4 separate regions of the Homo sapiens genome follow, and all the other regions are linked to region 1. The links are contacts of gene promoters, found by promoter capture Hi-C in blood cells and fetal thymus (Javierre and others, 2016). All regions are on one chromosome and are shown on one strand. Each heading gives the region's core, a stretch centred on a gene start or on the middle of the fragment in contact. The rest is flanking DNA. Distances are from core to core; before and after follow the strand shown. Region 1 holds the start of ALKBH3 (alkB homolog 3, alpha-ketoglutarate dependent dioxygenase). Region 2 has its middle 3.5 kb from the start of MIR670. Region 3 has its middle 58 kb from the start of MIR670. Region 4 overlaps TTC17 (tetratricopeptide repeat domain 17).

Region 1 (2,807 bases), core at 228-2,727:
ATTCCTCTTAATAGTCCCCAAGAGTAGAATATAAGGAAACTGTACTATTCCCATTTTCACCTACATGGACATTGAGAAATCGGCTAAGACTGTTTCCAAGCATATATTCCATTATCACTGGCTGCATCAAACTTCCCTGGAAGTTTGTTCAAAATACCTATGGCCCACCTTCAGAAAATCTGATTTAGGATGGATACAGGTATTTGTCTTTATAACAAGCAGTGTAAGATTTGACACAATGCAGGTATGTATGTGGACGGTAAAGTTCAATGATGCACCCAAAGCCACTCAGGAAATCAACAACAGACAGATTAACATTCAACTTATATTAAACTCCTGTCTCCAGCTAACGGATAAATCCACCTCATAATGGCTAATAATACTAATTTGACAGTTGTACCAGTAAAAGCTTAGCCTACAGCAAATGCAGAAGCACGTACAGCTACCAAAACAACAAGGAAATTCAAGCCACATGTTCCACATCTGTAATCTATTTCTTTATGCTTCTACCTAAGAAAGCTTCACACCTCAAGTTCTCAAAGGTAAAAGCTCGTTTTATATTAATAGCTTGCTTAGACTATAGATTCCCAGGTCCCATCTCCCACCTCTTCTGATTCAGTAGAGCTGAGCCAGGCCCAGGAATCTGTGTGTTTAACAAGTTCCCCCAGATGATAAGCATGTAATTCATTTCATTTAATAGGTGGAGAGACGCAGAGGCTGCCATCTGCCCAGAAGAGTTAATGACAATCAAATACCAATTCTCCAATCCCAGGAGCTCCCGTTTGACATGTTCTCTCAATTGAGGCCCTAAAAGCGTAACACAATTACCTACAGTCCCCGCAGAGGATACGACTTGCTCACCTTCTTGCTCCATTCACTGGGGAGCCATATGTTATTTGCCAGGGAACAATTGTTGAAAATAGATTCCAGAGCCCCATCCCAGATCTACTCAATTTGTAGAGTCCCAGAATTTGTTAACTAACGCCACCCTCAACCCAGGAATTCTTAATGCACATAAAGCTTGAGAACCAGTGCTGTAAAATACAAGGACTCTGGCGCCAGCCAGAACTCGCTTTGAATCCAGATCTGTCACTTCCCAGCTGCATGGCCCATGGCAAATGACTTCACCTTTCTGAGCCCCAGTTTTTCCTCAGTAAACAGGGCAGTCACTTTCCGCACGGTTGAGGTGCAGACTAAGCGAGCTCCGCAGGTGGAAGAGCTTGGTCGTGGATAAGGGCACTTCCTTTTCCTAATTTAGATCCTTCTCTTTAAGGAGGCCTAGAATGAGGCCCCGGAGGTCGCCCAGGAAGAGACTTCAGGGGTGGTACTCGCACCCCCAGCCCCGCGCACCCAGCAGTAAGTCAGGAAGGCGCACTTGCGGGCGGAGCCGGGCGCGCCCGTGCAAACCCGGTAGGACTTGGGGCAGCCCTCGCAGCCCCTGACCCACTCCGCAGTCTGTGATCGGAACCTTAAGAGTGAAGCACCGACTCCAGCAACTCCCAATCACAGGCCGCGGCATCAGGCACTTCCTCTCGACGTTACGCAGCGCCGCCACTACTTCCGGTGCGCAGTCCTCAGTCCGGGTAGTCCCACATCCCCCGCGCCTGGAGGGCCTAATCACCGAAGGTGCTGATGAGGGGATATGTGTTGCAGCGGACAGGGATTGAGAGTGCAGGGGAGCGGTGTGAAGGGGTCGGGGTTTGGCAAAGGTGGAAGTGAAGGCGTGTCTCCTACGTGAGTTCCTCGAAACTGGAGATGTCCAAGCATCGGCATCTTTGTGGCAGAAAGAGTGACCGGGTCCCTGTGGGACTAGATAAAGGGAGAGGAGTTTGGGGGACCTGGTTATAATGTGTTAGGCAAAAGGATTTGCATTTTATCCTAAAAACCACGGAGAGCCTGAAATGAGCCTCCTTTGTGTTCCTATTGCAGCCTGTGCACACCTCCGAACACAGCATTTACAGCAGGGCGTAGGACCACGCCTTAATTCACCTTGGCTCTCTCCAGTGCTAAGCAAATTTGCTTGAGTGAACAGACCTACATTTTGGCCCAGACACCACCACTTACTAGTTGTATAATCTAGGGCAAGTACTCTGCCTCTTTTTAAAATGGGTATCGCTCTTTTTGGGAGGATTAAGTGAGATAATGCATTTAAAGAATATAGCACAATGCCTGGAACACAACAAAAACTCAAAAAATGAAAAAGAGCTCACCCCATTTGAGCTCATGAGAAACATCTTTAAAATGGTCATGTTAAACCATGTACTTTACAGTATGAAAATAGCAAAAGTAGCACTGAATTGACTGTTTTATGCAAGTCATTCTCTAAGATCCGCCAAAGTATAGTCACTGTGGAAATCTTTAAAATAAGCCTGATATGAGTGTTTACCTTCAGGAAGCTCATTATAGGTACACCTCATCAATGTGTACCTATATTGTTGCTACTATCAAATCCATTTTCACAGCACTCATTATTATTTGTTATACTTTGTGACACTGAAGGAAAAAAATGATTTATCCTAGACCTGAAAGGAGAGAAAATGCTAAGGCCACACTACAGTTTTTTTCCCCCATCAACTAATTTGTCAATGTCTGCTTCTGGCTCAGGAACTTTGGCTGTATCTTCTAAAATATGTTATTTCTTTCTTTTCAATGATTATAGTTTTGGAACAGGAACAAAGAAGTCTGGATTGAGGAGTTCCTAAAAGTAGTGATTGACACCTCTTCAGCCTCTACGTAGTGTATTTCTCAAAGATCAATCCATGATTTACTTGCATCTGAAATTACTGCTTTTTTTTTGTTTAACAGAA
Region 2 (2,700 bases), core at 173-2,672, 320 kb after region 1:
ACTAGCAAGTTAATGTAGAGTAGGAAAAACCCTCTAGCTTTGGGGAAGTGGCTAAAGTAGGAGTTTTCAGGGAATGAAGTGGCTATTTTGATCTTCCCTTGTCCCTTATATCATTTCCCAAATCTATGCAAATATAGAGAAGTATGTAGAAGCAAATAACCTTTGTAGTGAATTGGAATCCTCAATCCTGCCCCAGACCTGAGGCTAGGATGAGGCTACTCCCTGCAGAGCAGGTCTTCTCTGGCTCTCTGGTTATTAATACTCAAGATGTGGTGGTCAGGGTAAGTCCTATAGTTCTAGGACCCATACACTCTAAAATAATCAGCCCATGGGCTCCTAATGGAATGAATTGGGCCAGGCACGGTGGTGCACACTTGTAATCCCAGCACTTTGGGAGGCCAAGGCAGGAGGATCACTTCAGTCTAGGAGCTTGAGAATAGCCTGGACAACATAGCAAAAAATAAAAATAGCCAGGCATGGTGGCGTGCACCTATCTTTCGAGGCTGTAGTGAGCGATGATTGTGCCATTGCATGCCAGCCTGGGTGACAGAGCAAGACCTCATCTCTAAAAAAAAAGAAAAAAAAAGAATGTATTGCAGTAAAACATAAAAGAAGGCTGTTCTTCTCACTAAATATTACTAATGACCACTGGGACTAAAACTCTCTGGATCTTATTTTTTAAAGACAGGATCTTGCTCTGTCACCCATGTTGGAGTGCAGTGGCACGATCATAGCTCACTGCAAGCTCGAATTCCCAGGCTCAAGCCATCCTCCTGCCTCAGCCTCCAGAGTAGCTGGGTCTACAGGCATGTACCACCATGCCTGGCTAATTAGAAAAAAAAATTTAGTAGAGATGAGTTCTTGCCTTGTTGCTCAGGCTGGTCTCGAACTCCTGGGCTCAAGCGATCCTCCCACCTTGGCCTCCCAAGGTGCTAGGATTACAGTGGTGAGCCACTGCATCTGGCCAAAATATGGATCTTAATAGATGGAACTTGTTCTTTCACGACTGGTACTTCCACACCAATTAACACATTCACATCAACTCATGGGTGAAAGAATTCTTAACAGAATGGGACACTGAGCAGATAAATTTGGAATAGGAAACAGAAGCCTATGGTGGCTTATTGTTCAGGCGAGGGCTTTATCATTGCATAACAACCCAGGATTGGTAAGGGTCCTACCCAAAGGAGAATGTGGACTTTTAAAAGCCTCTCTCATCTCTGGACTACGAGTGCTACAATGGCAAGCAGCATCCATGTTTTAGTTATCACTGGATCCTGAGAATCTAGTGTATGGCCTTCCATAATGGGCCATACAGAAGTTCGTGTTGAGTTCCCAATTTTAATAAGTCCGTAGGGGCTAGGTAAGGGATTACTTTCTTCTGTCCTCCACTAGGAGATGAAGTCATGGCAATACAAGACCTGGGTGAGGAGTAGATAGTGATACCTGCCTCCAGAGAATCACTGAGGGGCTCTCACAGCATTCAAGGAGGACTTGGAACATCTACTTCAGCTGAGGGAAGACTCAAGTCTTCCCTCTAGGCTTCTGTGAGTCAAATGCAGATGATCTTCTCCCACCCACACTTGAGGTCCAGATCTGTGCTATGCATTGACTGAGTCCCTTTCTCCTTACCTGAAGTTGGGAACTTCTGGGACAAAAGAGTTGAGTTCCTAGTTGAAGTGAAAGCTCCAGGGAAGTTGCCTAGGCCTGTCCCTTGCTTGGTAGGGCCAATGGCTTTCAGTAAAGTATAGGGAAGATAGACTTTACCTTGTGTATGTGGAAGAGTCTAAGAGGTCTCTGCTAATTTCAGAAAAGGAAGAATCTACCCAAGCAAGAAAAAGCATATGGTAGAAATGCCATCCCACACCATGCCTCATAAGATGTTCCCAAGTCATTTTTCTGATGCTTCCCTGGTCCAGAGGTATAATAGCTAAAATAATAATAAAAAATAAAAGTGATAGACATTTGGTATGTGCCAGGCACTGAGCCAAGCCTTGCAAATATCAACTCAATGAATCGTCACAATAACTTTTTGAGGTAGGTCCCCATTTTAAATGTCAAGAAACTGAGGCTTAGAGAGTTTAAATAACTTATCAAAAGTCACATAACCAACCACATATAAGAGCTAAGAAAGATTTGAATGCACGCCTTCTTGGCTGCAAAGCCTAAACTATCCACAGTTACACTGTACTCAGGATGCCATCCAGCCTATCAGAGACCTATGCCTACTCCTATTGCTGAGTGAGATGGGAAAGAGAAAAAGGCAGGATTTAAAAAAATTTTTAATATCTGCCTTTGTGCACACACATATTACAGAAACACATGTATCACTTACTTATCTAGAGTGCTTTAAAATGAGCCAACTCACTTCTGATTTCATTCTCAAAATAACTGTGTGGGGTAGCTATTATAATGTGAATACTCCCATTGTTTAGGTATGATAAGCAGTTTACGAAGAAGCGAAATAATTTGCCCAAGAGCATACATCCACATGGTTGCTTGAACCTATGTGGTTTGATGCCAAATTCATAGCTCTTTCACTATAACATAGTGCCACAATAATGAGACATACTCTGAGTCAGCTAACATTTATTAAACACCCACCATGGGTCAAGCACCGTGCTAGGCTCATTTGTAAACAGTCAATCATTATTCATTGATTGGTCTTCCAGTCCACTAACTGGACTGTCGCTGCAGCAG
Region 3 (2,822 bases), core at 210-2,709, 380 kb after region 1:
GGGCTTTATTAGGACCCCGAGCCTCCCACCTGTGGGAAAATTGAGTCCTAATTCGTGCTCTCCATGCCATGTAGAAACCCCAAGCTGAGAAACTAACATAAAAACATGTTTGGCCGGGTGTAGTGTCTCACGTCTGTAATCCCAGCACTTTGGGAGGCTGAGGCAGGCGGATCACCTGAGGTCAGGAGTTCGAGACCAGCCTGGGCAACATGGTAAAACCCTGTCACTACAAAACAAAATGAAACAAAACAAAAATATTAGCCAGGCATGGTGGCACGTGCCTGTAGTCCCAGTTACTCTACTTGGGAGGCTGAGGCAGGCGAGTCGCTTGTACCCGGGAGGCGGAGGTTGCAGTGAGCTGTGCCACTGCACTCTAGCCTGGATGACAGAGTGAGACTCTGTCTCAAAAAAAAAAAAAAAAAAGTTCGACTTTGTAGGGGATGCAGCAAAGACAACCTCAGAAACTTCTCTGTAGGGAAATGTCCTTGACCCCACATAATGTGTGAAAATACTTCAAGCATTAACTGCTGCTGAATAAGGACAAAAAATATAAAATATATGAGGAAGTTCAGCACTACTTATGTATGGATTCAGTCATTCATTCATTCAGCAGTTTTTTCTGGATACCTACTATGTACCTGGGGCTAGAGATATATCAGGGTACAAAATAGGTCCAAATCTTGCATTCTTAAAGCTTATGTTCAAGTTGGGGGTGACAGACAATATATAAGTAACATACACAGCAGACTTGATAATGATAAGAGCTACAAAGAGAAGTAAAGCATAAAAGGGGATTAGGAAATTGTGGAGGAGGATGTCACAATTTAAAATATCATGATTAGGGAAACCTCACAGAGAAGGTGAGCAAAGTGGCTATCTGGGGAAAGAGTATTTCAAGCTAAGGGAATGGCAAATGAAGATGACCTGAGGCATAAGCATGACTGGAAGTTTCAAAACACAGCCAGGAGGTCAGTGTGGCTGGAGGAGTGAGCAAGAGGGACATTAAAAGAGATGAAGCTAGAGAGGTGAGCCACATTGTGGAATAGGGTTTTATATGTTATTGCAAGCCAATAGTTTTAAGCAGAGGAATGACACGACCTGACTTATGTTTTAACAGGAGTCAATCAATAGTTACTCTGGGATTTTTTCTTTTTTTTTTGAGACAGTCTCGCTCTGTCACCCAGGCTGGAGTGCAGTGGCGTGATCTCAGCTCACTGCAACCTCCATCTCCCAGGTTCAAAAGATTCTCCTGCCTTAGCCTCCTGAGTAGCTGGGACTACAGGCATGTGCCACCATGCCTGGCTAATTTTCGTACTTTTTTTTTAGTAGAGACAGGGTTTTACTATGTTGGCCAGGCTGTTCTTGAGCTTCTGACCTCAAGTGATCCGCCTGCCTCAGTTTCCCAAAGTGCTGGGATTACAGGAATAACACACAGTGCCCGGCCTAGGATTTTTTTTTTGATCTGAATAACTAGATGGAGGGAGTTGCTAACTCATATGGGAAGACCAAAGTTAGATAATAATTTTGTGAGAAGATATGGAATTCTGTTTTGTACAGTCCATGTGAAGATACTGAGCAGAAAGTTGGATAAATGAATTTAGAGCTGATAGAGGACATTATGCTGGACATATAAATTGGAAGGTCATAAGCATGGAGATAGTATTTGAAACCATGTGACCAGATGATATCACTAAGAACATGAGAGAATATATTAGGCTGGTGCAAAAGTAATTGCAGTTTTTAGAGTAGTGATCCAAAGACTGAGAACTCAGAGGGTTACAAGGCTATAGGGTCAGACAGTCCAAATATCCAACAAACAGGAGAACTTACTCATAATGAACAAGAAATAATTGACCAAATTGAAAAGTAAGTATGCTGAAAGTGTTCAAGTAGTTAAGAGTAGCACCCATAACACAAAAAAAGATTATGAAACATGAGCAGATAGAAATGATGAAAAGGAACCAGGTAGAAATCATGCAAGTGAAAAATGTCATTACTGAAGTAAAAGTCTCAACGGATGAGTTGAACAGCAGGCTAGACACAGCTGAAGAGAAAGTCAATGAATCAGAAGACAGAATTGAAGAAATCCATCAAACTGAAAAACAGAAAGATAAAGAAAAATTTCCTCTATTTTTAGGAAATAGGTGTTTGTATTAAGTGCTGTCTTTGGGTGAAAGCCCCCCTTCTTAAAAGCCGGGGTCACTGTCCTAACCATTCAAGCTTTTGAGTCAGAATCCAGAAATGGAACCAAATCCATTTGTTTTTGTTTTTGTTTTTGTTTTGAGACAGGGTCTCAGTCCAGGGTTGGAGTTCTGTGGCATAATCAAAACTTACTGTAACCTTGAATTCCTGGGCTCAAGCAATTCAACCATTTCAGCCTCCTGAGTAGGCAGGACTACAAGTGTGTGCCACCACACTTGGCTAACTTTTTCTTTTTTTTTTTTCTAAGAGACAGGGTCCTGCTGTGTCACCCAGGATGATCTTGAGCTCCTGGTCTCAAGCTATCCTCCCATCTCAGTCCCCCAAAGTGCTGGGATTACAGGCATGAGCCACTGTGCCTAGCCTGGAACAAAATTCTTAGCAGAAAGGAAAAGGTAACTTATTTCTAGAATTAGGGAGTTAGTGGCAGGATTCAAGTCCTCTGCTAATAAGAAGAGCTAACATTTATTGGCTGCCTAGTGTGTTCCTGTCCCTGTTCAAAATACTTTACATGGGTCAGTAGCAGTGAGTGGCTAGGGGATGGGCTGAGAGGACAGGGAGTACCTCTGTAGATTAAGTGAAGCAGCTTCTCTGCCTATCTGCTGGAGTTCTCCCTGATTTAG
Region 4 (2,700 bases), core at 200-2,699, 510 kb after region 1:
CTGGGTGACAGATCGAGACTCTGTCTCAAAAAAAAAAAAAAAAAGCTTCTTTTAAACTGTCAATTTGTCAAATTAAACCAAGGCTCTAATTAGCAGTGGCTGGCTACTTCTGAGCAGTTATGTTGTTCATGGCAAAATCAGCCCTCTTTATCCTTAAGCTACTTAATACTAAGAAAATCTTTTTTAGAATTATAAACTAAATATATTTTACTGTAAAAACAAACACAGTACCATATAGACAATATGAAGGAGAAAATAAAAATTACTTGAAATTTCACTTTCAGAGATATCTGCTGTTAGATATATATCATGTCAGGATAACTTCTACATACATACACAAACACAGAGCTTTGTAGGTAAATATTTTCACAAAAATACGATAATAATATATCTACTATATTATTTCCTTCCTCTCTCTATTCCTCTGTACATTTTGTCAGACTTCCCAGTAAATACAGACCTATGTCAATATTTTTAGTGGTTAATATTATTTACCCAGGTTCCTAACTAAAATTCAGGTTTTTGGTTATTCTCCCTTTTTAACAATATTACAATGAACATCCTATACTAAAACTTTTGGCTGGGCGCAGTGGCTCACACCTGTAATCCCAGCACTTTGGCAGGCTGAGGCGGGTGGATCACCTAAGGTCAGGAGTTCAAGACTAGCCTGTCTAACATGGTGAAACCCCATCTCTATTAAAATTACAAAAATTAGCCAGGCGTAGTGGCACATGCTTATAATCCCAGCTACTTGGGAGGCTGAGGCAGGAGAATCGCTTGAATCCGGGAGGTGGAGGTTGCAGTGAGCCAGGCACTCCAGCCTGGTCAGTAAGAGTGAAACTCTGTCTCAAAAATAAATAAATAAATAAATAAATAAATAAATAAAAAATAAAAATAAGTTAGCTGGATGTGGTGGTAGGTACCTGTAATCCCAGCTACTCGGGAGGCTGAGGCAGGAGAATAGCTTGAAGCCAGGAAGTGGAAGTTGCAGTGAAAGGAGATCATGCCACTGCACTCCAGCCTGGGCGACAAGAGTGGCTCCTTCTCAAAAAAAAAAACCCATGAACCTTTTTAGACAGCTATCAGATTATTTCTTTCCTGTAACAGAAAGAAAACCGTTAGGTTAAAGGAACTATACTATTTTTTTGCATTTGTAAATTTACAGTTTTTGCTAGCTTTTCTCCAGAACAGTTGAATCAACTTAAATTCCTAACAACAGTGACTGAGTTCCTACACATCCTTAGGAATGCAGAAAAAAGGGTGAATATATACATTTTTTCTTTCTTTTTTGTTTAAAGAGATAGGGTCTTGCTCTGTCACCAAGGCTAGAGTGGACTGGTGTGATCATAGTTCACCGTAACCTTGAATTCCTGTGCTCAAGCAATCCTCCCACCTCAGCCTCCGGAGTAACTGGGACTACAGGTGAGCTGCTGCGTCAGGCCATGAATACATTTCAGTCTCTTCCTTGGCCATATGTATTTCTTTTGTGTATGTGATATTGTAAAATATATATTTGGTCTTCCACCCCACCCACCTTTTCTTGGCATACAACTCCTAAAATCCTTAGAATCTCCAAAGTGCTGTCTTTTTGTACAGTAGTGAGTTGACTGATGGCTGGCAGCTCCTAGGTAGTTTCAGGATCAGGGCAGGTCCCTGGAAAGACTAAGGCATGATTAGGACTTTCAGCCCCACCCCTTAACCTCTGGTGAGAGAAGAGGGGCTGAAGGTTAAGTTGACCACCAAAGGCCAATCATGCCCATGTAATAAAGCCTCCATAAAACCCCAAAAGGACTGGGTTCAGGAGATTCCGGAGAGCCAAACATGTGGAAGTTCCTGGAGAGGGCATGGAAGTTCTACACCCTTTGCCCCATACGTCACCCTGTGCATCTCTTCATCTGTGTCTTTTCTAATATAATAAACCAGTAAACATAAGTAAGTTTCCTTGAGTTCTGTGAGCCACTCTGGCAAATTAATTGAACCCAAAGAGGCAGCTATGGGAGCCCCAACTTGAAGCTGGTTGGTTAGAAGAGGCTGGGACTGAATTGGGTGGGAGGAGTCTTGTGGCACTGAGCTCTTGACCTGTAGGATCTGATGCCACTGCCAGGTAGACAATGTCAGAACTGAATTGGAAGCCACCTAGCCTGTGGCAGCTGCAGAACTGACTGCTTGCTTGGTGGTGTCAGAAACATGTTGTAAGAGAACAGTGGGAGAAACTGAGATGTTTTTTCCATTCACAATGTACTTATAAAAAATCTCACCTGTGTGTGATGGTTCACACCTGTAATCTTAGCACTTTGGGAGGACAAAGAAAGATCACCTGAGATAAGTTCAAGACCCCCCCCCCCACCTCCCCTCCCCGAACAACATAGCAAAACCCCATCTCTACAAAAACAGTTTTTAGAAGTAGCTGGGTGTGGTGGCACATGCCTGTTTTAGCTACTTGAGAGACTGAGGTGGGAGAACCACTTGAGGAGTTTGAGGCTGCAACGAGCCATGATCGTGCCACTGCACTGCAGACTGGACAACAGAGACTCCATCTTAAAACAAACAAACAAACAAACAAACAAACAAACCTGCCCCCTCTCTTTAACTATCTGACAGTTTATATATCATATTTTAAGAATATGGTTTCTAGTTGATATGACTTTACGTGATTATTCTCTTCTTGTTTGTGTTTTCTAACTTTTTCTACAGTGAACA

The links. The method cuts DNA at HindIII sites, captures the fragments that hold promoters and counts their contacts. A CHiCAGO score of 5 or more calls a contact.
Region 2: a contact is called between a fragment that was not itself captured here and the fragment with the promoter of ALKBH3 in region 1, in 2 of 17 cell types (neutrophils and erythroblasts). The highest score is 11.9, in neutrophils.
Region 3: a fragment that was not itself captured here is called in contact with the fragment with the promoter of ALKBH3 in region 1 in 4 of 17 cell types (M2 macrophages, neutrophils, monocytes and 1 more); the score reaches 9.4 in M2 macrophages.
Region 4: a contact is called between a fragment that was not itself captured here and the fragment with the promoter of ALKBH3 in region 1, in 2 of 17 cell types (neutrophils and total B cells). The highest score is 7.5, in neutrophils.

What each region holds. Positions count from the first base shown.
Region 1 is chr11:43,879,501-43,882,307 of GRCh38, reverse strand. It overlaps ALKBH3 (alkB homolog 3, alpha-ketoglutarate dependent dioxygenase), which reads right to left and starts at 1,477. Exons shown (of 10, transcript NM_139178.4): 1 at 1,129-1,477. LOC105376644 (a long non-coding RNA gene) reads left to right here and starts at 1,571. Exons shown (of 3, transcript XR_001748200.2): 1 at 1,571-1,626. RefSeq lists an enhancer at 1,492-1,691. The HindIII fragment of the contact is 7,136 bases long and covers 1,023-2,807 here.
Region 2 is chr11:43,561,799-43,564,498 of GRCh38, reverse strand. It overlaps a transcript of HSD17B12 not described here. Among named protein-coding and RNA genes, the nearest start is that of MIR670, 3.5 kb to the right of the region's middle. The HindIII fragment of the contact is 2,889 bases long and covers 1-2,700 here.
Region 3 is chr11:43,500,169-43,502,990 of GRCh38, reverse strand. No RefSeq gene overlaps it. Among named protein-coding and RNA genes, the nearest start is that of MIR670, 58 kb to the left of the region's middle. The HindIII fragment of the contact is 1,526 bases long and covers 697-2,222 here.
Region 4 is chr11:43,370,669-43,373,368 of GRCh38, reverse strand. The region is part of intron 1 of TTC17 (tetratricopeptide repeat domain 17); the gene reads right to left. Among named protein-coding and RNA genes, the nearest start is that of TTC17, 13 kb to the right of the region's middle. The HindIII fragment of the contact is 2,804 bases long and covers 48-2,700 here.